7 separate regions of the Homo sapiens genome follow, and regions 1, 2, 3, 4, 5 and 6 are each linked to region 7. The links are contacts of gene promoters, found by promoter capture Hi-C in blood cells and fetal thymus (Javierre and others, 2016). All regions are on one chromosome and are shown on one strand. Each heading gives the region's core, a stretch centred on a gene start or on the middle of the fragment in contact. The rest is flanking DNA. Distances are from core to core; before and after follow the strand shown.

What was found. The method cuts DNA at HindIII sites, captures the fragments that hold promoters and counts their contacts. A CHiCAGO score of 5 or more calls a contact.
Region 1: a fragment that was not itself captured here is called in contact with the fragment with the promoter of GSG1L in region 7 in 4 of 17 cell types (neutrophils, monocytes, M2 macrophages and 1 more); the score reaches 17.4 in neutrophils.
Region 2: a contact is called between a fragment that was not itself captured here and the fragment with the promoter of GSG1L in region 7, in 1 of 17 cell types (neutrophils). The highest score is 6.0, in neutrophils.
Region 3: a fragment that was not itself captured here is called in contact with the fragment with the promoter of GSG1L in region 7 in 1 of 17 cell types (neutrophils); the score reaches 10.1 in neutrophils.
Region 4: a fragment that was not itself captured here is called in contact with the fragment with the promoter of GSG1L in region 7 in 3 of 17 cell types (M1 macrophages, M2 macrophages and M0 macrophages); the score reaches 6.1 in M1 macrophages.
Region 5: a fragment that was not itself captured here is called in contact with the fragment with the promoter of GSG1L in region 7 in 1 of 17 cell types (M1 macrophages); the score reaches 5.4 in M1 macrophages.
Region 6: a fragment that was not itself captured here is called in contact with the fragment with the promoter of GSG1L in region 7 in 1 of 17 cell types (neutrophils); the score reaches 5.7 in neutrophils.

The regions. Positions count from the first base shown.
Region 1 is chr16:28,235,889-28,238,588 of GRCh38, reverse strand. No RefSeq gene overlaps it. Among named protein-coding and RNA genes, the nearest start is that of XPO6, 25 kb to the right of the region's middle. The HindIII fragment of the contact is 1,892 bases long and covers 397-2,288 here.
Region 2 is chr16:28,214,362-28,217,061 of GRCh38, reverse strand. No RefSeq gene overlaps it. Among named protein-coding and RNA genes, the nearest start is that of XPO6, 3.7 kb to the right of the region's middle. The HindIII fragment of the contact is 1,356 bases long and covers 649-2,004 here.
Region 3 is chr16:28,276,071-28,278,770 of GRCh38, reverse strand. It overlaps a transcript of SBK1 not described here. Among named protein-coding and RNA genes, the nearest start is that of SBK1, 15 kb to the left of the region's middle. RefSeq lists a silencer at 789-1,083. The HindIII fragment of the contact is 3,981 bases long and covers 1-2,700 here.
Region 4 is chr16:27,895,475-27,898,298 of GRCh38, reverse strand. The region is part of intron 2 of GSG1L (GSG1 like); the gene reads left to right. Among named protein-coding and RNA genes, the nearest start is that of GSG1L, 170 kb to the left of the region's middle. The HindIII fragment of the contact is 1,922 bases long and covers 601-2,522 here.
Region 5 is chr16:27,838,790-27,841,491 of GRCh38, reverse strand. All of the region lies in intron 4 of GSG1L (GSG1 like), which reads left to right. Among named protein-coding and RNA genes, the nearest start is that of GSG1L, 220 kb to the left of the region's middle. The HindIII fragment of the contact is 1,614 bases long and covers 546-2,159 here.
Region 6 is chr16:28,298,638-28,301,337 of GRCh38, reverse strand. All of the region lies in intron 1 of SBK1 (SH3 domain binding kinase 1), which reads right to left. Among named protein-coding and RNA genes, the nearest start is that of SBK1, 7.5 kb to the right of the region's middle. The HindIII fragment of the contact is 672 bases long and covers 1,046-1,717 here.
Region 7 is chr16:28,062,264-28,064,963 of GRCh38, reverse strand. GSG1L (GSG1 like) reads left to right here and starts at 1,250. Exons shown (of 7, transcript NM_001109763.2): 1 at 1,250-1,888. The coding sequence starts at 1,540. The HindIII fragment of the contact is 8,058 bases long and covers 1-2,700 here.

The DNA.
Region 1 (2,700 bases), core at 93-2,592, 170 kb before region 7:
GGCCAGGCTGGCTTCAAACTCCTGACCTCAGGCCATCTCCAGCCTCGGCCTCCCAAAGTGCTGGGATTACAGGCATGAGCCACTGCACCCAGCCTATTACAGTTTTTTTTTTTTCCAGATATTTTTGACCTGTGGTTGGTTGAATCTGTGGTTGCAGAACCTGAGGATGTGGAGAGCTGGCTGTTTTTTGCCATGGCAGCCCTCACATACTAATGCAGTGCATTTCCCATTCATGTCAAATACATCTGAAGGCAAGTGGTCCAAGATGCTATGGCCACAACACAGAGTCTCACGCTCCACTTTCTCATCCACCTTCTATTTGCAAGGTCACTTCTTGGGCCAACATGGCTGCTGGAACTGCCTTACTCCAAGCAACAAGGAAGTGGGGAGAAAGCTTGTGTTCCTTCCTTTTAAGGCAACTTCCTACAAGTCCCATAGAGCCATTTTGCTTACATCTTATTGGCCACCGCTTAGTCACATGATGACACCTAGCTGCAAGGGAGGCTGGGAAATGTACCCAGCTAGAAGTAAAAGTTTATTCCTAAGGAGAAGGGGGAGAATGGATGCTGGGAGAGGTACCCAGTGGTCTCTGCCACAAACTATGATCTCAGACCACATACTGAAGAAGGCATGAAGAACTTTCTTACTTTTTCCATAAATCAGCATACTTTCTCTTCCTTTCCTTTCCATTCCTTTTTCTTTTTTTTTTCTTTTTTTTTTTTTGAGACAGAGTCTCACTCTGTTGCCCAGGCTGGAGTGCAGTGATATAATCTCAGCTCACTGCAGCCTCTGCCTCCCTGGTTCAAGCGATTCTCCCACCTCAGCCTCCTGAGTAGCTGCGATTACAGGTGCACACCACCATGCCTGGCTAATTTTTATATTTTTAGTAGAGATGAGGTTTCACCATGTTGGCCAGGCTGGTCTCAAACTCCTGACTCAGGCGATGCACCTGCCTTGGCCTCCCAAAGTGCTGGGATTATAGGCATGAGCCACCATGCTTGGCCACTCAGCATAATTTCTATTGCAAGCTAAGATGGCATTTTCACCTATGTGAATGTGTATATTTCTTGGTAACTTTTGAAGTGCCAAACTATGGTGGGCAGTGTCTGTACTGAAGTCCTCTGTCCATGCAGGTGTGCCTGAGACATCACCCCTCAGCCATTGACCCCCTGGCTTTCAGCTTACACAGGCTGCTTGTTTCTGTCTGTGCAGCTCCTTCTGCCTCTCAGGACCATGCTCAAGGCTCAGAGAATGTTCCACTACTCTCATGCCCACTGAGAACTAGGGCATTGTGTGAAGCATTCTCCCCTCTGCTCTTTTTTTTTCTTTTTGAGACAGGATCTTGCTCTATCCCTCAAGCTGGAGTGCAGTGGTGTATCATGGTTCACTGCAGCCTCAACCTCCTGGACTCCAGCAATCCTCTTATCTCAGCCTCCTGAGTAGCTGGGACTACAGGTGTGCACCACCATGTCTAGCTTACCTTTGTATTTTTTTGCAGAGATGGGGTTTCGCCATGTTGCCCAGGCTGGTCTCCAACTCCTGCACTCAAGTGATCCCCTGTCTTGGCCTCCCAAAGTGTTGGGATTACTGACGTGAGCCACCATGCCTGGTCCCATCTGCTCTGGGCTTTCTCAAGCATCTCTCTGGAGTCTCATCGCTTTTCCCCAAAGAAGTGGAGTTCAGAGCTTTTCCCTCTGAGATTTCCCAAACTCTCTCTTTTTTTCCATTACTTCCCCTCTGCCTTTCTCTTTTCTCCCTACCCCAGGGGCATCTGAAAGTGACAAGTCCTATTTTTGGCCTTTATCTTTCTCCAATAAGGACTTAAGCTATTGGGATATAAAAGCCCGAAACTCATGGATTTTACCTGCTTTCCACCCTCTCCCATTTCTCTACTGAATATGAGACAAAGACAGGTTTTGGATTAACATTAGGGAAGAAAGAAGAAAATAAAATATCAGGCTAGACATGGTGGCTCACACCTGTAATCTCAGCACTTTGGGAGGCTGAGACGGGAGGATTGCTTGAGCCCAGAAGTTTGAGACCAGTCTGGGGAACATAGTAAGACTCCGTCTCTACAGATAATAATAATAATAATAATAGTAAAGGTTTTTTAAAATCAAGAAATTAAATAAAACATCAATCTGTGTCTCAAAAAATATTCTCCTGCCATATTTACAATAAAGTGTCCTGTGGTTGGCACTTTTTGGCATTCCTCACTTCCCTCTCTCTTGCTACTGCCACTATTTACAGTCTAGAAAAGCTACATTTTCTCAGCCTCTCTTGAAGCTTAGGGAGGTGGTATTTCCCAGTCCTGGTCAATAAGATAGGGACAGAAGGCTGTTCAAGGTTTACAGGAAAGCTTTGAAAAAAGAGGGTCCAGGTGTGGCTGACATCATTTCTTTCCCTCTGCTTCCTACTTATAATGTGAACATGGCTGGGTGCAATGGCTCACACCTTTAATCCCAGCACTTTGGGAGGCCGAGGTGGGTGAATCACCTGAGGTCAGGAGTTCGAGATCAGCCTGGCTAACATGGTGAAACTCTGTTTCTACTAAAAATACAAAAAATTAGCTGGAGGTGGTGGTGCATATCTGTAATCCCAGCTACTTGGGAGGCTGAGGCAGGAGAATTGCTTGAACCTGGGAGGTGGAGGTTACAGTGAGCTGAGATCATGCCATTGCACTCCAGCTTGGGCAATAAG
Region 2 (2,700 bases), core at 77-2,576, 150 kb before region 7:
ACCCAAAGGTTACCATCTTTGTTGCTTCCTCCCCATTTCCTCGTACGCTTAGGAAGTTCATACACACCTCACAATGTGCTGTAATTATTTGGGTGGCTGTTGCTGACCCAGACAGTGGACAATTTGCCTGATTCTTATTCACTTTAAATACTTCATTTTTAGCAAAAGGCCTGGCACAAAGCTAATACTAACTCACTGAAAGTTTGTTGAATGAATAACTAAATGCAGGCGATCAAGGCAGTAGCAATAGAAATAGGCAGGCAGAGATGGCTGGGGGCCATCCCTGCAGTGCCAACTAAAAGTAATAGCAGCCTTAAATCTTTTTTTGGAATAAGACAGGCTTCAGATTAATATTAATAACAAAATGTTATTTAGTTTACTTGAACAAAATCCCTGGAGTCAAATTTATAATAGCTGTGACTTATCTCATGCCTCATGTGCCAGGTGTTTTATGTACATTAAATTAAATCTTCACCCCAGCCTGGCAATGGAGCTATGATGTGGTGACTCCACACATCCAGTTTATTCTGAGGAATTGAAAGCAACTCCAGGGGATTCTATAAGCCACTCATAGCAGTTCCACCCTCCTTCACTACGGCTAGATCCGGGGGACTAGGCCTAGGCCAATTAGGATCAGTAGGGAAAGCTTCTTGGCTTGAGAAAGGATGTGAGAAAGGTGCTCTCTCTTTTTTCTTTATTTTGAGATGGAGTCTCACTCTGTCACCCAGGCTGGAGTGCAGTGGTGCAATCTCGGCTCACTGCAACCTCTGCCTCCTGGGTTCAAGCAATTCTCCTGCCTCAGCCTCCTGAGTAGCTGGGACTACAGGCGCCTGCCACCATGCCCAGCTAATTTTTTTTTTTTTTTTTTTTGAGATGGAGTTTTGCTCTGGTTGCCCAGGCTGGAGTGCAATGGTGCAATCTCGGCTCACCACAACATCCGCCTCCCGGGTTCAAGCGATTCTCCTGCCTCAGCTTCCCAAGTAGCTAGGATTACAGGTATGCGCCACCACACCTGGCTAATTTTTTGTATTTTTAGTAGAGACGGGGTTTCTCCATATTGGCTAGGCTGGTCTCAAACTCTCGACCTTAGGTGATCCACCCACCTCGGCCTCCCAAAGTGCTGGGATTACAGGCATGAGCCACCATGCCCAGCCTCATTTTTGTATTTTTAAGTAGAGATGGGGTTTCACCAGTTGGCCAGGCTGGTCTCAAACTGCTGACCTCAAGCGATCCATCCACCTTGGCCTCCCAAAGTGTTGGGGATTACAGGTGTGAGCCACTGTGCCCGGCCAAAAGGTGCTCTCTTTTGCTGGATTTGAACAGGGAATTTTGTGGCCCTGGCTGTTCCTGGCAACCACCTTGACAACAAGTCTGATAATGGAGAAGAGCAGAGCAAGGAAGTCCTAGAGGAATGGCCGGGCGTGGTGGCTCATGCCTGTAATCCCAGCACTTTGGGAGGCCGGGGTGGGCAGATCACTTGAGCTCAGAAGTTGGAGACTAGCCTGGGCAACACAGTGAGACATTGTCTTTGCTGAAAAAAAAAAAATCAGCTGGGCATAGTGGCGCACACCTGTAGTCCCAGCTAACTGGGAGTTTAAGGTGAGAGGCTTGCTTGAGCTTGGGAGGTCGAGACTGCAGTGAGCTGTGATTGCGCCACTGCACTCTAGCATGGAGAACAGACTGAGACCCTGTCTCAAAAAAATAAAACAAAACAAAACAAACAAACAAACAAACAAACACACACAAAACCACACACAGAAAAAAAAGAAAATCCTAGAGGAATGGATCTAGGCCTCCCATCACACCCAGCCAAAAGCTAATGAATCTCTGGAAGTCCAGTTATGTAACCCAAAGGCATACCCTTAAGTGAGTCAGTTGCATTTCTGTTATCTCATTCAATTTTACAGTAAGGAAACCAAGACTTCGAGAGTCAATAACTCAAGATACCTTAGCTAGTGAAGTTAAGAGCTGGATTCCACTCCAAATGAGTCTCAACCCAAAGCTTTCACTCATCCTACTAAACTAAGCCAAGTAAGTGACTTGGCCTCCATTCCGATTCATCAGCTTACCTACTGAGATGGCTTCTCTTGTACATGCTGTTTCTACTGCCTGGAATGTTCTATGCCCCCTCTCTTTGCCTAGCAAACTCCTGCTTCTTTAAGGCCAAAGCTTAAAGAAATGTCACTTCCTGACTTCCTCCCCATCCTAATCTGCCAGATTATTTTAGATCCCTTGGCCTTATTAGCGTGTAAACTATATTAAAGTTATATCATGTTAGTTTCAATTTTTCCTTCATTGCTCTTATCACAATAACTGATCCATTATTGTACAATATTTTACAAATAATTTGTCTTTAAATTCCATAAGGGCACACATATATTTGTTTTGCTCAGCATTGAATCCTTGAAATAGTGACTGTCACTTAGTGGACAACAATAAAGATTTGATAAAATAAATGTGCTTGAGGCTGGGCATGGTGGCTCATGCCTGTAATCCCAGAACTTTGGGAGGTCGAGGTGGGCGCATCACTTGAGGTCAGGAGGTGAGACCATCCTGGCCAACATGGCGAAACCCCGTCTCTACTAAAAATACAAAAATAAATTTAGCTGGGTGTGGTGGCAGGTGCCTGTAATCCCAGCTACTTGGGAGGCTGAGGCAGGAGAATTGCTTGAACCTGGGAGGCAGAGGTTGCAGTGAGCC
Region 3 (2,700 bases), core at 33-2,532, 210 kb before region 7:
GTTGGCTGAGAACCTGCCTATGGGAGGTGGTCGGAGTGTGATCATGCCTGGTATGAGGCAGGGGCTCCAAGGCCTGGGCACATGCCCCACCGGCCCATCAGACTCCCCTTACAAATTCAAAGATGAAATTATTAAGAATTTCAAACTGGGGCTGAGATCGCGCCATTGAACTCAGCCTGGGTGATGGAGTAAGACTCTGTCTCAAAATAAGATAAATAAATAAATAAAATAGAATAGAATAAAATAAAATAATAATTAAAAATTTCTCAGGCGTGGTGACACCTGCCTGTAGTCCCAGCTACTCAGAAGACTGAGGCAGGAGGATCGCTTGAGCCTGGGAGGCTGAGGATGCAGTGAGCCAGGATCAGGACACTGCACTCCAGCCTGGGTGACAGAGCAGGATCCTGCCTCTAAAACAAAGGCGGGGTGGGTGAGGTGGGGTGGGGTGAGGGAGGTGGCTGCCTCCTCTCTTTCCCTGTCCTAGACACTGCCTACCTCCCCCTGCTCTCCCCTGCCCCAAAGTCGATCTCAGTCTCTCTCCCGGGACCGGATGTGGCCTGGGGAGGGCTGGGCGGAGGAGCTGCAGGAGAAGCGGAGAGAGACGGAGGCCATGGCGAAGCCTCCCCTTCTCGCGGGGCCATTCGTTCCCCACTGGACGCTGCTCTGCCTGCGTGGCCTCGGGCATCCTCACACCACCTTAGAAGGTCGGACTTATAGCTGTGCCCATTTTATGGCTGACCAAACAGGGTCACAGAGCTTTTGTGTAACCTGGCTGAGGCCACACGGCCCGGACGTAGCGGGCCTGGGGCCAAGCCCAGGGTTCTGTGGCTAAACAAGAGACTTTGTCCGCGGAATCCGCCGCTTGCCGGCCGGTCCGCATATGTGAGCACAACACGCCCTCTAGTGGCCGTTTCGCCGTAGTGCAGGACGATCTGAGGGACCGCGGCGCGCGCTCTGTCTCTGTCTCTGTTCTATCTGGTTCTCGAGGGCAAGACCACGACATTTCCATCTTCTGATCGCCCACAACCCAGGACATGAATCCCCTCCCCAGCTGGTCCACTCGAGGTCCCCGGTCTGTGCCAGCCCCAGAGTACCTTTTAAAATTTGTATTTTGGAGAAAGGGTCTCACTGTCGCCCAGGCTGGAGTGCAGAGGTGTGATCATGGCTCACTGCAGCTTCCACCTCCTGGGCTCATGCGATCCTCTTGCCTCAGGACTACAGACGAGCACTACCATGCTCGGCTAATTTAATTTTTTGTGGAGACGGGGGTCTCACTGTATTGCTCAGGCTGGTCTCAAACTCCTGGTCTCAAGTGATCTTCCTGCCTGGGCCTCCCAAAGCACTGGGATTACAGGCGTGAGCCACCATTCCCCACCTTAGAGTGCCTTCTTGTTACTCCCCTGTTGTCTTTTTTTTTTCTCTCTCTCTCTCTCTGTCTCTATGTTTACACCGTGGTTCTCAAACTCCGGGGAGCTTTCAAAAGTCCCCACGCAGCCACACCCCAGAGCAAATGAATCCGTTTCCTCTCTCACCATCTTTAAGTTTGTGGGGTACAAACCTCAGAGAACAGAGGAGTTCTCAGCAGCCTCCAGCAGCCTCTCAGCTCCCTGACCTCCTCCCGTCCCCTTCGACCCTCTCCTCTGCAAGCCCCTTGGCCACCGCTCCCAGGCCCACACCCCAGCCTGCGTAACGACCCCACACCTCACCTGCTCTGAGTTCTCTATTTCAGGCACTCCCCCCTCTGCTCTGCCCTTCTATCCTCTTCATCGCTTGCCCTGGTACCTGCAGGCATCAGCTTCAATCCACCGCCCGGGAGCTGTGGCTCACGCCTGTAATCCCAGCACTTTGGGAGGCCGAGGCAGGCAGATCATGAGGTCAGGAGATCAAGACCATCCTGGCTAACACGGTGAAACCTTGTCTCTACTAAAAATACAAAAAATTAGCCGGGCGTGGTGGCGGGCGCCTGTAGTCCCAGCTACTTGGGAGGCTGAGGCAGGAAAATCACTTGAACCCGGGAGGCGGAGGTTGCAGTGAGCCAAGATCGCACCACTGCACTCCAGCCTGAGCAACAGAGTGAGACTCCGCCCCTAAATAAATAAATAAATACATAAATAAATAAATAAAATAAAAACTTCAATCCACCACCTGCAGCACTTTCTCACTACCCAGCAACCCCCTTCTGCCACCACCACGATGGCCTCCTGGAAAACACGCCCACTCCCATGCCCACCTGTCCTGCTATAGGACCAACCTGGCACAGCGCTAGCCAGGCATCCGCTCTCTGCCTGCACCAAGCAAGCCAACACTGCCTGGGAGGGTCACCCCGCAGCTGCCAGTGCCCCGTCTCATTCAGGGGCGCGGGTCTTGGAGAGGCACTCAGCAGAGTGCCCCCAACCTCCGCCCTCACTATGCCTCCCAGTTGCTTTTTCCTGCCCTTTCTGAGCAGCTTCTGAAACTGTAATTCGCCTGTGAGTCTCCTAGGGGTCTTGGTGAGGCCCGAGATTCCGCATTCCATCCCGCCAGCCCCCAGGGGTGCTGACGTTGCTGTCCGTGGAGCCCACTCTGTAGCAAGGTCTGGGATGACTTCCCACCTCCTCCTCTCTCCTCAAACAAACCGTGGCTCCCACTTTGCTGAGAAAACAGATGGATGAGATACATTTCCACTGCCTCCGCCATCAAACCACAACCCCTCCTCCAGCC
Region 4 (2,824 bases), core at 312-2,811, 170 kb after region 7:
CCACCAGGTTCCTACTACCCATCTCCAGGCCCCCAGCCTGTGTGGGCCAGTGCTTATTTTCAAAGTCAGGTGCTGAATTCTGAAGGGGAAGAAAAATAATTGTCATCTGATTCTGAAGGCCAAGGTCACCGTGACATATCTCACAGGCTCAGCAACTGTCCCCAGATTCCAAAAGAGCCATTTCTAAAGGGCACGTCTGCCAGAGACGTCTCTGAACTGACAAGGCCTGGAGGCTTGTGGAACTCTAGGGGCCAGAGGCATTGTCAAAATCCTTTCCAATGATAAACTAGTTTGTTCAGTTGTTGAGTGTGGAGGAGAAAGGACTTGTTTTTCTGGGCCCAGCCCATCAGCTTCATAGGCTGCCGTTTACAGAGGACCTAGAATGCTCCAAGAACTAGATGGGGGCTTTGCAGCCATTCCCTCATTAAAGTTGCCCAGAAAATCCTGTGAGATTGGTAGTGTGGACTCTGTTTTATAGCCAAAGAAACTGAGGCTCAGAGAGGTTAGGAAAAGGCCAAGGTCAAATCCATGTCTGTTTGACCTCAAGTCCAGGCTCACCCCACCACAGCGAGGTATCTCTGTGGAGGTGGTAGAGAAGCTTCCTTCTTTGCTAAGGTCGATCTAGGGGCCATGGTGGGGGCCACAGTGCGGGCTAGGGTGGTTCGGGGAGGAAGTGATTTTGAACAAAGAAAGGAAGTTGGCTGGGCATGGTAACTCATGCCTGTAATCCCAAAACTTTGGGAGGTCAACAGAGGAGGATTACTTGAGGCCAGGAATTTGAGACCACCCTGGGCAATAGGGTGAGACCTCATCTCTACAAAAAATTTAAAAAATTACCCAGACACAATAGAACGTGCCTGTGGTCCTGGAGACTTGGGAGGCTGAGGTGGGAAGATCACTTGAGCCCAGGAGTTGGAGGTTGCAGTGAGCTGTGATTCCACCACTGCACTCCAGCCTGGGTGATAGCACGAGACCCTGTCTCAAAAAGGAAGAAGAAAAAAAGGAGGTGTATTAGTTTCCTCTTGCTGATGTAACAAATTTCCACAAATTTAGAATTTAGTGCCTTGAAACAATATGGATTTATCTCACAGTTCTTGAGGTCAGAATTCCAAGATGAGACTTAAAAATCAGTGTTGGCTGGGCGTGGTGGCCCATGCCTGTTATCCCAGCACTTTGGGAGGCCGAGGTGGGGGGATCACCTGAGGTTAGGAGTTTGAGACCAACCTGGCCAAAATGGTGAAACACTGTCTCTGCTAAAAATACAAAAATTAGCCAGGCATGATGGTGTACGCCTGTAATCCCAGCTACTCGGGAGGCTAAGGCAGGAGAATCGCTTCAGCCTAGGTGGCGGAGGTTGTAGTGAGCTGAGATCGTGCCACTGCACTCCAGCCTGGGCAGCAGAGCGAGAATCTGTCTCAAACAAAACAAAGCAACAACAAAATACCAAAGTGTCAGCCGGACTGTGTTCCTTTCTGGAGGTTCAAGGGGAGAACTTGTCTCCTTGCCCTTTCTGTCTTCTAGAGGCCGCCTGCATTCCTTGGCTCATGGCCCCGCATCACTGCAACCTCTGCTTTTCCCATTGCATCTCCTTCTCTGTCTCTGACCCTCCTGTCTCCCTGTCATAATGACCCTTGTGATTACACTGGGCCAACCCAGATATCAGGATAATCTCCCCATCTCAAAATCTTTTTTTTCTATGCCTTCGACCTTTGACTTTTTAAAAAATTTAATTTAATTTTAAGTTCCAATATCCATGTGCAGGATGTGCAGGTTTGTTACATAGGTAAACGTGTGCCATGGTGGTTTGCTGCACCCATCAACCCATCACCTAGGTATTAAGGCCCATGTGCATTAGCTATTTATCCTTCCATCTCAAGATCTTAATCATGTCTGCAAAGTCCCTTGTGCCATGCAAGGTAACGTATCCTGGAAGTGAACAGCTTCCAGGGATTAGGAAGGGGACACCTTTGAGAGCCCTTATTCAGCCAGCCCCAGGGGCTTAGTCACATTCAAATGTCTTAGTGCAGCATTCAATGCCCTTGACACATGGTTCCCAAGCAGTCCTGCCCATCTCCACCCTGAGCACCCACCAGAAGGAAGTACAGCTGCAGGCTGAACATCTCATTTCCCGCACGCCTCCAGCATGCCCCACCCATTGGAGTGACCCCCTAGGCCAGTGCTCCTTACACTCCTATGTGCTTTGGAGTCAGCTAGGGACCTGATGACAATGCAGGTCTTCAGTCAGTAGGTCTGGGAGGGGCCAGAGATTCTATATTTTCTCCAGGGTCCCAGGGAATGCTGACGCTGCTGGTTTGTAGACCTCCCTTTGAGGATTGAGACTCTAGACAAGATGGTTATGCAGAAAACAGTCATCTCCAGGCCTGTGTTTCCACGGTAGCATGCCGATTGGCATCGGAATGGAATCACATCCCCACGTGCTCTGTTGCCCTACCTTTTTGCCCATCCCACTAAAGTATCCACTGAGGGTCTCTACTATGACCTGGAGTCAAAGCATAAAAGCTTTCCGGACTTATTAAAGGAAGATTCCGAGTGAGCGTCGTGACCTTGGGCAACTCACTCGCCCTCTCTGGGACTTTTTGGAAAGGATTTGGGGCTGGCTGGACAAGAGAACTTTCGGGAACAGCTGTCAGATCCATGCCCTTGGCTTAGAAAGTCAATTCAGGCGTCTGAGCTGAATGTCTTTCCTTTTCCTCTAACTCTGAAAATTGAGTTATGGGATTGTGTGGTGTTTGTTAGAACCCTGGACCATGGGGAAAGGTTTGCAGGATATTTCACCCCTATCTGTAGATATCAGGGGTCCATA
Region 5 (2,702 bases), core at 103-2,602, 220 kb after region 7:
CTCTGTCTTCCTGCCCAGCAGGGAAGAACAAGCTGCAGGGTCTCTGGAAGCTGGAGGGGTTTTGAGGCGCTCAAAGCCGGTTGAGTGCCGGTTTCTTAGAGGGACACCTTTGCAAGAAGTAGAAGGTCTCCATGGTTAAGAGTCTGACAGCCTGGGGTTCAAATCTCACCCCGACATACACTGCTGGGCCACTGTGGCAGCGTGGAGGGGCGGTCAAGGGTGTGGCTCCTGGAGTCAGACAGTTCAGGTTCAGATCCTGCCCCTGCCCCTCACCAGCCGGGGACCTTGGCCAAGTCACTTACCTCCTCTGCACCTCTGTGTCCTCAGCTGGAAAATGGGACAGCCCGAATTTCCGCCTCATGGGGGTCTCTTGAATTGTATTCCATTTCTCTGTTGAGGTGTACACATCACCCCCAAATCTAGTAAAAAATATGTTATTATGTAGTAATAATAGTAACTAGTAAAAATGTGTTGTTATTTGTTCTTACGTTTGGTGGTGGACCGGGCTCATCTGGGTGGTGCTTGCTGGGTTCTTCCTCGAAGCTTCAGTTGGATGTCACCTGAAGCTGAGGTCATCTGGGGCGTGGCTGGGGTGGACCTCCAAGGTGGCACCTCATGACACTGGCAGCTGGTGCCGGCTGGCGGTGGCTGGCGGCCGGAGGGGCTTCACACAGCCTGGAGGCTGGGTCCTTGGGGAGACTATCTCAAGAGTGAGTGTTCCAGGAGACCCAGGTGGAAACCACAGTATCTGCATGAGCCAACCTCAGAAATCACACAGTGTCACTCCTGCTGCATTCTATTGGTTAAGAGCAAGTGACAGGGCCAGCTTCAAGGGGAGGCATGAACCGCGGGAGGTGTGGCTCCCTGGAGGCCAGCTTTGGAGACAGTAACCAACACGAGGAGCTAGTGAATCAATGCATGTGGAGCACTCAGCACAGAGTTTGCTCGGTGAGTGCGAGCCCTCCTGCCCACTCCTCCTTTTGGCGCCATGTCTCAGCTCTCCCTACCTGTGACAACGTCAGGTCAGGACCCTGATGGGCGCCCAAGCAGCTGCTTGGCTTAACGTGGCAGGGACCAAGTGAATCAGATTAAGGTTGGGGCCGAGCAAAGTGGCTCACCTGTAATCCCAGCACCTTGAGAGGCCAAGATGGGAGAGGGGCTGGGCAAAGTGACTCACCTGTAATCCCAGCACCTTGGGAGGCCAAGGTGGGAGAATCGCCAGAGGCCAGGAATTCAAGACCAGCCTGGGCAACATAGCCAGACCCAATCTCTAAAACAATAAAAAATAAAAATAATTAGCTGGCTGTGGTGGTGCACACCTGTAGTCCCAGCCACTCAGGAGGGTAAAGTGAGAGGGACACTCAAGCCCAGGAGGTTGAGGCTGCAGTGAACTGTGTTCGTGCCACTGCACTCCAGTCTGGGCTGGAGGTTCTGTCTCAAAAAAAAAAAAAAAAAAAAAGATTAAGGTTACTACACCTACTTTGTGCTGTGCACAGTGGGAGGCACTTTACAAGCCCCGAGTTGCCTGGTCCTGTCACTGATCCCCAGGAGAGGGGCTGCCATCCCCCTTCAGGGACCAGGAAACAGGTTGAAAGCCACACAATTAGCCTTGGATACTGTGAACTGCATGCAGCCGGGGCTGAACCCAGCCTGCGGATGATTTCTTAGGCCTGCCATTGTGTCTTATAAAAGTTTGGATTTATTTCTAACATCTAAAATGGTAAAACTTCTACATAAAAGTCCAGGTTTCTGATTCATGATCATTGGAAGATCTGTTCCTGCACAACCAGCATTGCCACCAGGCAGCCTGGAGATAAGGCTGAGAATGACTGAAACTTTAGATAGGCATCTGGTCTCCAGCTCACCCCAGTCCCCACCACACCCTATTGCCTTACATTTACCCACGCTTCCACACTTAGTCATCATCTGCCTGACCTTGCAGGAATTTGAGTCTGTGGCCCCTGCTTGGAATGTCAGCTTTCCTGGTGACAGCAGGAGTGTGGAAAGCTAGCCTTGCGCTTTCTGCTTCTGTTTTGCCTTTTATCAGTCTGGAGAGAAATGGAAAAAGTTCTCCTCTTACTCCTGCACACACAGTGAAATCTTATCTCAAGCATTCACTCTGCAGACTGAGGGTAGTGGGACATCGTGGTGTGGAAGCTTATAAGAGCTGGAGGGCCCAGAGAAGTTATGCAGTTTGGCCCATGTCACACAGCAAGAGAGTAGCAAGTTGGGCCAGATCTAGGGAAGGTTCTCACTCCTGTCCTAGTGGCCCCTTTCTGTTTCTGGGGCCCTGTCCCTGTGGAATATAGGCCTCACTGCTGTCCCTCCCTTTCTAGTCTCCATGACTATGTGGAAACAGCAGACCAGCCTCTTTCCTCTCTGGGGACCCCAGGCGGCCCCTTTGCTCTCTGGAGGGGTTAGCTGGTATTCCAGCAGGCCAATCCCTTAAGGGGTTGAGTCTGCTGCTGTGACCCTACCAGAGCCTGGGCCCCAAAGACAACTGGAGAGGGTGTGTGTGCTGATGTCTCTGCTGAGAGGCTGTGTGATCAGCAGGAAGTCTGCCCTTACTCATCAGCCTGAGGCAGGTGGCTGCGGCCTCCTTTATTCTAAGACCAGGGTTGGGGAAAGGGATGTGGCTGCCCAAGGGTGCCCTGTGGGCCATGGAGGGACCAGCTGGGCCCTCAGAGCCTGCCACTATCCAG
Region 6 (2,700 bases), core at 132-2,631, 240 kb before region 7:
GCTGGTGCCCAGAGCTGGAACAGGCTCTCCAGCCTCTCCTGCCCTCCCCAGTGAGGCACTGTGAAAGGCAGGGGTCCTGGGTCCTATCCTCCTGGCTACTGGAGGGTGCAGGGCCCGGGGCAGCCCCCAGGGGTGTGGGATAAGCTGGGGAGGTCTTCCCAGCCTGGCTGCCTGGGTGAGGCAGGTGGCCCAGCACTCAGGGGTATCAACAGGAGTGCAGGATGCTGGGCACAGTAGGTGCCCACCACTGGCTGACAGGCAAGGGGACTGGGCTGAATGTCTACCAGTGGACAAGTGGTGGTCTCTGGTGAGATGGCTGGGTGAACAGAGGCCCCAGAAGAGATGGGCCCTTCTCCAGCTGCATCCTTCACCTCCTTTGCCTCCCTGAGCTCCTACACCGGGATGGACTGAAGACAGCCCAGCCTAGGAGCCTGCGGTCCAGGTTCAGGCTTTCACCGCCATTTCTAGCCTGGAAGCTTTGGATCTGCCACTTACCGTCTCCCCATTTCCCCATCCTCAGTAAAGTGAAATAATAAAATAACAGTGCAGTTTAGGGTACTATTAGTAATAGCCAACATTTATGAGCCACTGAAAGTATAAGCACTGTATATATATTGACTCATTTCAACTTCATGACAATCTCAGGAGAAGCTATTATTAATCCCCTTACATCCTTTACAGTTCAGGAAACTGAGACTCTGAGATAGGAAGCTTGGCCAGGCACAGCGGCTCAAGCCTGCAATCCAAGCACTTTGGGAGGCTAACACAGGCAGATGGCTTGAGCCTAGGAATTCAAGATGAGCCTGGGCAACATAGCAAGACCCCATTTCTATAAAACATTAAAAAAAAAATGAGCCAGGCATGGTGGCATGCGCCTGTGGTCCTAGCTAGTCGGGAGGCTGAAGCGGGAGGATCACTTGAGCCTGGAAGGCCAAAAGTGCCATGAGCTGTGATGACGCCACTGCACTCCAGCCTAGGCAACAGAGTGAGATCCCATCTCAAACAAACAAACAAACAAACAAACAAAAAAGAGAGATAGGAAGCTTAAGTGATGTGTCCTGTGTCACACAGCTAAGAAGTCACGTAGAGATCATCTATCTGGCTCCAAAATATTCAATAAGTATTTGTTGAGCACCTACTATGTACTTGGTACTATTTTTGGGTCTGGAATACATTCGTGAACCAAACAAACTGTCCTGCCCTCAAAGAGCTCATATTCTAGTTTGGAGGCACACAGTGACAAAGATGAGCAGGAGATGTGTGTCAGGCAGTGAGAAGTCCTCAAGGAACAGCAGAGCGGGAAAGAGGCAAGGGAATTGTGGGTGGGAGGCCAGCCCATGGAGAAGGCTGCATGCACATAGGCATTGTGGTGGGCGGGCTCTCCTGGCAGAGGGCACTGTGTGGAGGCCTAGAGGTGGGACCTGCTGTGTGCACAGGGATAAGGGAGTGAAGGGCAGGAGATGAGAGCAGAGGTGAGAAGGGATGGCTGTTGTCATTCAGGGCCTCCGAGGCCATGGCGGGGACCTGGCTTCCACTCCAAGTGGGATGCACTCCAAACCCCAAACCTGAACAAACCCTTCCTGAAGCCAACCTGGCCTGGAGAAGTGAAAAGTGACAGTGTCAACCTGACCCGATCAGACTCAGAAACTCCGAGGCCAGCTGTGGCAGCATCGCACACTGTTCTTGGAGTGGGGCTGAGGAGGGGGTGGGGGAAGCTTAGAGGTTTCTCGGGGAGGCCTGGGGCAAGTGCTGCAGATTCCTCCCTGACACAGTTCTCACTGCCATGGCCCCGTGTAAGTGGAAGCGTGGGGCAGGAAATCTAGCCCTGGAGCTCAGGCGAGGTCCCATCAGGTCCATTTGACTGGCCTTGGCTTGTGGACCATGTGTGAATGGTATCAAGGGAGGCAGACTCTTCCCTAAATCCCAGCTACGGAATCTTGAGGAAACAGCTTCACCCATACACCTCCAGTTTTTCCATCTGTAAAGATGGGGCTAACTTTCCCTTTCTGCTCAGGGCTTTGAGGACTTATATGAACAACAAACCCTTAATGGGTACTGGGTGCCATTCATGGCACTTTACATTCATTCTCTTACTCCTCACAGTGACCCTAAGAGGCAAGTACTAATATCATCCCCCTTGTTTACAGATGAGGGACCTGAGGCACAGAGAGATTAAGCACCTTGTCCAAGGTCACCCAGCTGAATCTAGGGATTGCGTTTTTTACCACTAAGCTGTGTTATCTGTGGGCCCCATTGTGCCTCCTGGAGACACCTAGGGTCAGGGCTGGCAGGCACCTGAGCTCCCAAGGTGGAAAAGTCTCCTCTCTGCAAGGCCTTGAGCCCTGGCTCAGAAAGTCACAAATTATGCTCATGGATAGGTAAACCCCTTCTGGCTATGGTGGGGGACCCTAACAAACCCAGAAAAGCTGCCCTGGAGGCAGTGGGGGCCCAGCGCTATACAGCCTCTCTGGGCCCAGATCAGAAGGAGGAGGATGGTCCCCTCCAGCCCCACCCGTGCCCTGTCTCCCAGCCCCTTGGGGCCATCCCAAAGCCCAGAGGCAGTTGGAACATCCTCTGCCCCTCTGGTGGTTGCCTAAAGCCATGAGGAAGGAGTGCTAGTGCAGTGGGAGATCACAGCAGTTCCCTGGGCCTGGATCAGCTCATTTGCATACCCCGGCAGGGAAGGCCAGAGCAAACACT
Region 7 (2,700 bases), core at 1-2,500:
ACGCCCTGAGCATCTGGGCAGTAAGTGCTGTGCAGCGCGAAGGGAGTTCAGGGAGCGTGGTCATCTTAGAGCAGAGGTGGGGACGGGGTTGCACACAGTTTCCACGTTGCACAGGAGAGCCTGAAGAGGTTTGTCTGAGTTTGGTCAACTGATCTTGGTTCAGATGTCAGTAACAGTGAATTATTAATTGAGTCTACTGTGTGCCAAATGCTTTTTGCAGCCATGATCTCATTACAGCAGCCCACTGTGATATACCTTGAAGGGGGGGGGGTCCTCCCTTTTTTATAGTTATGGAAATTGAGGCTCAGAGAGGGTAAGTGACCTGTTCAAAGCCACACAGCTGGTCAAGCCCTAGATATGCTTGATCCCAAAGTCAGTATGTTTGGCCACCCTGCCCCCACCCGAATCTTGAAGATTCTACCCACATTCACATGGTGTGCATGTGAGCAGGGTTGGCAGCCCCTGTAGGGCACCACTGCCTGGTAGCTGCAATAACTTTGTGGCCGGCATGGGCCCTCCTAGGGTTCTGCTGTTTGGGATCTCAGGTGGGTGCAGTGGGCTGTCTGGGGTACCCTGTTGCCACTCTTCCTGCAGTTGCATGCCATGGTTGGGAGCCCAGATGACAGTTTCATCCTTGGAGGGGAGCTCTTCCCAGATGCTGGAGGTGACACCCAGGAGACAGAAAAACGTTTCAAACCCTATAACCCAATACTCCAGGAGGGGCGCCTCCTGACAGATTCTGCCACTCCAAGTCCAGCATGGGTTGTCTTATCCAGGGGGTCTTGCAGCTCCCTGGCTGTGGGAAGCCCTGCAGGCTCTGCTGTTTAGAACCTTTGGAAAAACTCCTTTCTCAGGGTCTGGTGCGGGGGTCCTTTTGGGGATCCCCTTCTGGGACAGGGTCCTGCTGGTCCGTGTCCCTCTTGGGGAGCCCCAGCAGGCTCTGCCCTTGTCTCCTGGGGCAGGGCCTCTCTGGGTCTCATGAGATGCCCGCTCCCGGCGGGTTTTGTTGCCCCACGTCCGCCGTGGGGATCTTTTCTCAGGAGCGCCTTGCCTGGGATTCTCCTTGCGTCTCAGACCCTCACCCTGGCTCGGATTTCTTTCGGGGGCGTCCCTCCACTCCCAGGCCCCCGCCCGCGCCCGGCGTGGCGGCCCCCTCTCCCCGTGCGGGCGGGCTCCGGAACAGTGTCGCCGGCCGCCTGCAGGTGTCTCCCCACGGAGGGGCGCGCGTCCCTGCGCCGTGGCCGCTGCCAGGCGCCAGCGGCTCCTAGCCGAGGTGCACTCGCGCTCCGGGCTCCGGGCGCGCCGTAGCCGCTCCTCCACCGCCGCCCGCCCCGCCAGCCCGCCCCGCACGCCCCCCGCGCCGCGCCCCCACCCCGGGGTTGGGGGGGGCATGGGCCCGCGCCGCGTCCGCCGCCGCCGATCTCAGGCACCCGAGCCCCGGGGCGCGGCGGGCAGCGGCCGCTGACGCGGGGCGCCAGCTGCCAACTTCGCGCGCGGAGCTCCCCGGCGGTGCAGTCCCGTCCCGGCGGCGCGGGCGGCATGAAGACTAGCCGCCGCGGCCGAGCGCTCCTGGCCGTGGCCCTGAACCTGCTGGCGCTGCTGTTCGCCACCACCGCTTTCCTCACCACGCACTGGTGCCAGGGCACGCAGCGGGTCCCCAAGCCGGGCTGCGGCCAGGGCGGGCGCGCCAACTGCCCCAACTCGGGCGCCAACGCCACGGCCAACGGCACCGCCGCCCCCGCCGCCGCCGCCGCCGCCGCCACCGCCTCGGGGAACGGCCCCCCTGGCGGCGCGCTCTACAGCTGGGAGACCGGCGACGACCGCTTCCTCTTCAGGAATTTCCACACCGGCATCTGGTACTCGTGCGAGGAGGAGCTCAGCGGGCTTGGTGAGTGCGCGCGGGCGGCGGCCAGCTCGGCTCCGGCTCCCCCGGGGCGGCGCGGCCATCGAGGCCCGAGCCCCGGACCCGTTCGCCCTCCTCCCGCCGCCTGGGCCCAGCTCCCAGCGCTCCGCCTGGCTAGGGGCGACGTTCCGGGGCAGGGGGCGCGCGCCGTTCCGGGGCCGGGGACCAGCATGGGGGGACGTGCGGGACGCCCCGCCGTGGAGAGGTGCAAGGCAGAGCTCCTACCCGCTGCGGACGCCCCGCGGCTTTGGGGACGCTCCCGCGCCCCGGGAAGGCGCCCACCCCCGCTGCCGGTCGGAGGGGCGCGCGCTGCTTTCCGCTCCTGAACTCATCTCCACGCTCGCCCCCTCCTCCTCTTCCTTTCGCGGGGCACTAGATGCCCCCACCCACCCCGGAACGCCCCTGGGGGTGGGGGTGATGCAGGGACTCCTGCTACCAGCCGCCCCTCCTGCCGCAGATCCACAGACCCGGGAGCCTTCCACCCCCATCGCCAACCCACGCCGAACCTCCCAGACGGGAGTGGGGAGTGGGGGAGTCCCGCGGGCTCCCGGAAAGCCGCACCCGCCCAGAGGCACCCCTATTGCCAGACGCCAGGGAGCCCTCTGTATCCTGGCCCCCTCCTGGGAGAGGCAGGCTAGGGAACTGGGGACAGCTGGGCAAACTCCGGGTCGAGGAGTCCAGGAGGGCTTAGCTTAGCACAAGGCTCCTATTAGGTTCGGTGGGGGACTGACTTTTCAGAAGGCAGATCAGACTGTCCCCTTTGCCTGGACCCCCTCCTCTACCCTCCAGAGGCAGCC